Linked DNA regions of Homo sapiens: region 2 is linked to region 1. The links are contacts of gene promoters, found by promoter capture Hi-C in blood cells and fetal thymus (Javierre and others, 2016). All regions are on one chromosome and are shown on one strand. Each heading gives the region's core, a stretch centred on a gene start or on the middle of the fragment in contact. The rest is flanking DNA. Distances are from core to core; before and after follow the strand shown.

Region 1 (3,718 bases), core at 616-3,115:
GTGTGGGAAGGTTTACTGTCTCCTACAGGGTTGGAATGGCAGGAATCTCTTTAAGCTTACCTCATTCTCTCGTGGGGTACTCTTTATTTATTTATTTAATTTTTCCCCAGTATTTTACTTACTGAGTTGATTCAGGCTTTGGACCAGTAGGGGAAGTATCCCTGGGTAGGCACCAGATGTAGCTAAAGTAGGTGGGTAGGCACCGGTTGTAGCTAAAGCAGGTGGGCAGAGATCCCAGCCTTGATGAGAGTGCCTGGGAGAGCTCTCAATTAGATGTGCTGAGGTTTTGTCAGGGTGAAGGGTAGGAGCTACCTCAGGTCCCCCACTAGGCCAGCTGGAAAGCTATCCACCTCCCAGCTTCACTCCTTTCCCAGTGTTCCAGCTATTCAGATCAGACAGGCAGTTATTTTCATCTGTAGAAATGTTGATGTTCCAAGTAGAGAGGAATTGTGACTGCCTGTCATGCAAACCTGAATCTGGGGAGTGCTCCTCCCGTGGGGATGCAATCACCCTGATTTGTTCCAGGAAGGCTGTCTATAGGTGCATCAATGCTGCGTTCCTTTGGGAGAAGCCCCAGCTCTGTCTGCAGTGGCGTACCAGGGGGAACAAGGATCCCTTCTCTAAGACCCTTCACAATACCAGAGGCTGCCTGCCTATTGGGTAGAGGTGCAAACTTTCCCCCACTCTGCCCAGCACAGCAATTGTCTCTGCAATAGGAAACTTCCCACCAGTGAAAAGATCTGGGACTCAAGCCCTGCCATTCAGATTCTTTTGTTCCACAGGGTATTCCCTTGATGTGATGTTCTTCCCCTTCCTCTAGGAATGGGACTTCCTGGAAGCCAGACTACAGTGCTCTTCTGGGTCTAGCCACCCAGTGGGCCTACCAGACTCTGGGCTGGTGCTAGGGAATGTCTGCAAGGGATCCAGTGGTGTTACCTGTCTTCAAGACTCCCAGCAGTGAATACCAGCACCATCTCTGACAGAAGTGGGAGGGGAGTGATGCAAACTCTGCAAGATTCCTTGGTTGTAGATAGACTTAGAGTATTGACTTTCTCAAATGCTGGTTATAATTATAGTGAACTTATCACGTGGACAGACGCAGGACTTCTGGTTAGCCAGGGTGTTGTAAGCAGTGGTGATAGCTGAGAATATGCAGCCGTTTTCTCCTTCCTGGGTACAGTGCTATTCTGCCTAGAGGTGAGTTTTTGCCTGTCTCACAGAGTAGGCTGCAGCCTGCCACTTCTTTCAAAAGTTCTGTGGATTCTTTCAGCTTTCCTGTTCAGTTCCTGCATTCGTTCCTGGAGAAAAAAAAATTATAGTGTGAATCTCTACACGCTATTCTGTCCTTCCAGATGGGAGAGGCATGCTAATGCTGCCTCCAATCTGTTGTCTTGGGGGGAAAGAAAGCAATTTGTTTTTGTTTTTTTTTTTAATGGATTTGCTGGGTTTAGTAACCCAGAGGTCATTGGGAACCTTGGCGAAAGTTATTTCAGTGGAGCAGTAGGAAGGAAGCCAGTTGCAGTGTCTTTGTTGAGCAGCAGAGGGGAGGTGAGGAAGTGGAGAGAGCAGCTGTGGTGGCTGAAGGGTGCTAGGACAGAGGGAGCATGATAAAGCCATAAGTAAGATGTGGTAGAAGGGAAAGAGCCAGGACAGAGGGGAGAGAAAGCAGGATCCTCAAGGACCAGAGAGGCAGTGGGTCCCACAGTCAGGTGCGGGGATTCAACAGAAACAGAAGGAGGGACGCTTCTCACTCTGACCCCGGAAAGAAGGAAGAAACTGCGTGCGAGTTCAGACAAGTCCGTTGGCGGGGGCTGGGATGCCTGCATCTTCCTTGTTAAAAAAGGAAGTGCAGGTTCAAAACATTCAGAGACAGAAGGTGGATAGACAAATCTCCACCTTCAGACTGGTAGGCTCCTCCAGAAGCCATCAGACAGGAAGATGTGAAAATCCCCAGCACTCATCCCAGAATCACTAAGTGGCACCTGTCCTGGGCCAAAGTCCCAGGACAGACCTCATTGTTCCTCTGTGGGAATACCTCCCCAGGAGGGCATCCTGGATTTCCCCCTTGCAACCCAGGTCAGAAGTTTCATCGTCAAGGTTGTTTCATCTTTTTTTTCCTGTCTAACAGCTCTGACTACCACCCAACCTTGAGGCACAGTGAAGACATCGGTGGCCACTCCAATAACAGCAGGTAGGTGACTTGTTCAGTCTGAGATGCTGGCAACATATTTCTAATGGAAGAGATCTGGAAACTTCAGCCTCCTCTGAGGCCCCTGAGAACTGGGGTGATGAAGTGTAGAAGCTTAGAGCTAAAGACAACTAAGTCTTCACCTAGACAGTGTTGCACAAAAGAATTTTCTGCAATAATAGAAATGTCCTAGACCTGCCCTGCCCAGTATGGTAGCCACTAGTCACACGTGGCCACGGAGCACTTGAAATGTGACTAGTGTGACTGCGGATCTCAATTTTTATTTCATTTTATTTTATTTTATTTTTTCTTTTTTGAGACAGGCTCTCACTCCAATGCCCAGGCTGGAGTGCTGTGGCATGATCTTGGCTCATTGCAACCTCAACCTACAGGTCTAGGTGATTCTCCCACCTCAGCCTCCCAAGTAGCTGCAGCTACAGGCATGTGCCGCTACACTCAGCTAATTTTTTGGGTTTTGTTTGTTTGTTTGTTTTGTTTTTGTTTTTGTAAAGACAGGGTTTCGTCATGTTGCCCAGGCTGATCTCAAACTCCTGGGCTCAAGCGATCCGCCCACCTCGGCCTCCCAAAGTGCTGGGATTACAGGCATGGGCCACCTTGCCTGGCCTTTATTTTAATTAATTTTAATTTAAATAGCTACACATGGCTAGTAGCTAGCATGCTGAACAGAATAGAATTAGAAGAAGCTCCCGTTTTCCAAAGGCACACAACAAGGCCCAGAAAGAATGACTTCTCCAAGCAGGATTAGAAGCCAGGTTTTTGTTTTGTTTTTGTTTGAGACAGGGTTTTGCTCTGTCGCCCAGGCTGGAATGCAATGGCACAATCTCGGCTCACTGCAACTTCTGCCTCCCGAGTTCAAGCAATTCTTATGCCTCAGCCTCTGGAGTAGCTGGGATTACAGGCGTGCGCTGCCACGCCTGGCTAATTTTTGCATTTTTAATAGAGGCGGGGTTTCACCATGTTGGCCAGGCTGTTCTGTAACTCCTGGCCTCGAGTGATCCACTCACCTCAGCCTCCCAAAGTGCTGGGATTACAGGCATGAGCCACCGCACCAGAAGCCAGTTTTTTAATTCACTCCACCCTGCATATAACCGCAGTGATCTCCATGGAAATGAAATTGACCTAAGGAGCATGAAGAAGGAGGCTGACTGGGAAATGTCAAATCTGGGCTCCCCTCTCTACATCCTTTGTATCTGACTTTCTGGGACACAGGGAGGTACCTAATGGAGCTCAGAAACTTTAGGCTGGGATCCTGCTCCTTATTACAGTGAACAGGAGATAGGATTTGAGAGCAGATTTTTAGAAGTTTTTTAAACTGAAAACCTAGTTCAGCTGTGTCACTCTAGGTATGTTGCTTAACCTCTCAGAGTCTTCATTTCCTCTTCCAGAAAGTGCCTGCTTCGTGAGGTTATCCTGAGGATTAATTGATACAAATTCTGGAAAGCACTTTGCCCAGAAGCTAGAACCTGGTAGACACTCAACATTACAGCTAATATGACAATTAATATCCAG
Region 2 (3,968 bases), core at 564-3,063, 170 kb after region 1:
AGTTTAAGTAGGAGTTACTTAGGGGGACTAGTGGCCGTTATGGTGGGCTAGCTCCCCAGACACCCCAACCCTTCAGTGTACTTCCAGTTCCTACAGGCCAAGAACCTCATTTTAGGAAGTCCCCACCCAAGGTGTGATCTCACCAGAGCAAGTACAGTTCTGCTCAGTGTCTGTCTCCCCCTTGCTCAAGGAGTAGCGCCCTAGGTGAAATGCATGGCCCATGGAATCTGTCCAGATCCCTGACATTTTTTCATGCTCTCTACACTTGTGCTGTCTTAGTCCATCTGGGCTGCTACAACAAAAATACCTTAGAGTGGGTAATTTAGAAACAGCAGAAATGTATTGCTCACAGTTCTGGAGGGTGGGAAACGCAACATCAAGGCACCAGCAGGTTAGGTGTCTGATGAAGGCTCCCTCTGCTTCACAGATATCGTCTGAGTCCTCATATGGCCAAGGAAGGAACAAACAGACACCGCCCCCCCACCAGCCTTCCTTTTTTTTGAGATGGAATCTCACTCTGTGCAATGGCACAATTGCAGCTCACTGCAGCCTTGACCTCCCATGTACAAGCAATCCTTCCAACTCAGCCTCCTGAGTAGCTGGGACTACACACATGCACCACCACACCTGGCTAATTTTTGTATTTTTTGTAGAGACAGGGTCTCACTATGTTGCCCACGCTGGTCTTGAACTCCTGGGCTCAAGCAATTTGCCCTCCTCCACCTCCCAAAGTGCTGGGATTATAGGCGTGAGCCACTGCACCTGGCCACCAGCTTCTTTTCTAAGAGCATGAATTCCATTCCAGAGGGTTCCGCCTTCATGACCTAATCACTTCCTAAAGGCCTCACCTTTTAATACTATAACATTGAGGATTAAGTTTCAACAAATGAATGGAGTGGGGACAACAACATTCCCACCATAGCAGGCCCCTTCTCCAGAAAACACCCTCCACTTTCTAGAACCACCAGGATGGTTAATATCCAAGGAGATTCCATTTCCAACCAGCAATCACCAGCGACTCACATCTGCCCGACTGGGGGAGTGGGACATGGGGCACACGAGGCAAGCCCACACAAGCCTTGCTGCGTGCTTTTTCTCCAGAGCCCTTTTTCTGACTATAGGGTCAAAAATAACACCTGAAGCGCCTGGCCCAGAGCAGCAGTGCTTCGCTGGCAATAGGCATTCGATAAATGATGTTTTTTTCTCTTGGGCCTTATCTGCAAAATTATTAAGTAAGCTTTTATTGTCTGCCAACCAGACAGGAATTTCCGGTTCTAGAAATGAGAAGGCTGAAAGAACACAGCCCCTGCTCTCAAGAAACTCACAGTCTAAGGGAGCCAGTAAAATGACAGATTATTACAATGTTGACAGTTTGACAAGTGCTGGCAGATAAAGAAATATTCACTTGGTTCCTCCAGATCCCAGAGAAAGCTCCTAACCCAGTGTGGGGAATGGGGTGGGGGTTCGGGAAAGGAGTTCAGAGGAGGTGACACCTGAGTAGAGTGTTAGGAGGTGTTAGGAACCAGCCTATTCGGAGGAGGGGAGAAGGTTCTCCAGGCAGAGGGCAAGGGACTTAGGGCCAGTTGCCCCAGCAAGCTAGGATGGGGGGTGGAGGGTGCAGTGGGGTAGAAGGGGTAGGAAATAGGGCTGGCCAAGGAGGCAGGGGGCCAGAAATTGAGATTTTACCCTGAAAGCAATGGGGAGCCAGAAAATAACCACCTAGAGGGAGTTTGGGAGGGTTGGGGAGGCTCTGGTGGTGCCCCTGGGGTAGGGTTCCAGCTTTAGCAAATAAAGATGCAAGGCAACCAGTTTGAGCTTCAGATAAACAACAAACCTTTTTTTTTTTTTTTTTCAAGACAAGGTCTGGCTCTGCACTCCCAGGCTGGAGTACAGTAGTGCGATCTTGGCTCGCGGCAACCTCCACCTCCCAGGCTCAAGCCATCCTCCCACCTCAGCCTCTCAAGTAGCTGGGACTACAGACATGAGCACCACCACGCCCGGCTAATTTTTGTATTTTCTGTGGAGACAGGGTTTTGCCATGTTGCCCAGGCTGGTCTTGAACTCATGAGCTCAAGCAATCCATCCGCCTCACCCTCCCAAAGTGCTGGGACTACAGGCATGAGCCGCTGCGCCCGGCCAAACAATATTTTTTCATATAAGCATATCCCACTGCCCCATATAATATTTGGAAATACTTGTACTAAAAAAAAGTACTCATTGCTTATCTGAAATTCACATTTAACTGGTTGGTTGTATTTTTCCAGCAACACTACCTAGGAGGAAAGTGGAGTCAAGTCCATGGCTGCAGGAAGAGGGGTGGAGGAGTGAAAGGGATTAGACTGATGTTTATTTTAGGACTGGATGTTATTTTAGGTATTTTAGGACTAGCTAAAGCTTAGTGATTGGTGGGAGGGGGTGGTGGCAGCCTGGAAGGGGTGGGCCCAGGTGGAACCTGAAGGACATGGGCAGGAAAAACTTAATTGGAGCGGTGGATCCAGAGAACTTTCTCTGTTGCCACCCTCCAGCCCAGCCCCAGGACTCCACTAATTGGTCCTCCAAACCCTTCTCATAGCTGCCTGGTTACCTAGCATTTAATGTGTTACTCTACCCATGCATTGATCACTAACTTTCTGAAAGAAGTTGCCTTTTTTCTGTTTTTCTTTTTCTTTCTTTCTTTCTTTCTTTTTGAGATGGAGTCTCACTCTGTCACCACGGCTGGGGTGCAGTAGCATGATCTCGGCTCCCTGCAACCTCCGCCTCCTGGGTTCAAGCGATTCTCCTGCTTGGCCTCCTGAGTAGCTGAGATTACAGGCGCCCACCACAATGCCCAGCTAATTTTTGTATTTTTAGTAGAAACAGGGTTTTGCCACGTTGGCCAGGCTGGTCTTGAACTCCTGGCCTCAGGTCATCCACCTGCCTTGGCCTCCCAAAGTGCTGGGATTACAGGCAAGAGCTACCGCGCCGCCCGAAGTTGCTTGTTTTCAGAGGACGTATTTACTGAATTGAGGCATTGAACCCAGCCTGAGGTGAAAGTGCCTGTTTCTCCCCACTGGAGGGCAGAGACAATGTCTCATTCACCCCTAGGCCTGGGCACGGCCCTGACCCAGCATCTGTTGAATTGAATGCCAATGTTCCAAAGTGGGATGGAGGGAGCCTCTCAGGCTTGAATGATAGATGTGTGGGGGATAGATAAGGTAGGGGTGGGGTATGGGGGCTCCTCCCCCTTAAAATTGGCCTTATTATTCATAAACATTATTTAACACTTTCCTAAGGAAATAGAGAGTGGAAAGAATGGTGGATTTGGATGTCTCAGAAGTGAAGTTTTGTTCCAGCTTTGGCACTAAAGGACTGTGAGGCCGGGGGCCCATCTCTCTACTTAGAAATCACACTGTGGCTGGTCACAGTGGTTCATGCCTGTAATCCCAGCACTGTGGGAGGTCAGGGGGTGGATCACCTGAGGTCAGGAGTTAGAGACCGGCCTGGCTAACATATAGTGAAACCCCATCTCTACTAAAAATACAAACAATTAGCCAAGTGTGGTGGCGCATGCCTGTAGTCCCAGCTACACCGGAGGCTGAGGCAGGAGAATCGCTTGAACCTGGGAGACAGAGGTTGCAGTGAGCCGAGATCATGCCACTGCTCTCCAGCCTGGGCAACAGAAAAAGACTCCGTCTCAAAAAAAAAAAAAAAAAAAAAAAGAGAGAAGAAAAGAAATCACAGTGGCTCACGCTTGTAATCCCAGCACTTTGAGAGGCCGAGGCGGGCAGATCACAAGGTCAGGAGATCGAGACCATCCTGGCTAACATAGTGAAACCCCGTCTCTACTAAAAATAGAAAAATTAGCTGGACGTGATGGCAGGCGCCTGTGGTCCCAGCTACTCAGGAGGCTGAGGCAGGAGAATGGCATGAACCCGGGAGGCGGAGCTTGCAGTGAGCCGAGATCACGCCACTGCACTCCAGCCTGGGCA

What was found. Contacts are between HindIII fragments. The CHiCAGO score rates a contact against its expected background, and 5 or more counts as called.
Region 2: a contact is called between a fragment that was not itself captured here and the fragment with the promoter of CXCR2 in region 1, in 1 of 17 cell types (neutrophils). The highest score is 7.0, in neutrophils.

The regions. Positions count from the first base shown.
Region 1 is chr2:218,124,163-218,127,880 of GRCh38, forward strand. It overlaps CXCR2 (C-X-C motif chemokine receptor 2), which reads left to right and starts at 1,866. Exons shown (of 3, transcript NM_001557.4): 1 at 1,866-2,191. The HindIII fragment of the contact is 2,247 bases long and covers 54-2,300 here.
Region 2 is chr2:218,294,010-218,297,977 of GRCh38, forward strand. The region is part of intron 2 of PNKD (PNKD metallo-beta-lactamase domain containing); the gene reads left to right. Among named protein-coding and RNA genes, the nearest start is that of TMBIM1, 3.5 kb to the left of the region's middle. RefSeq lists an enhancer at 1-18. The HindIII fragment of the contact is 1,157 bases long and covers 1,236-2,392 here.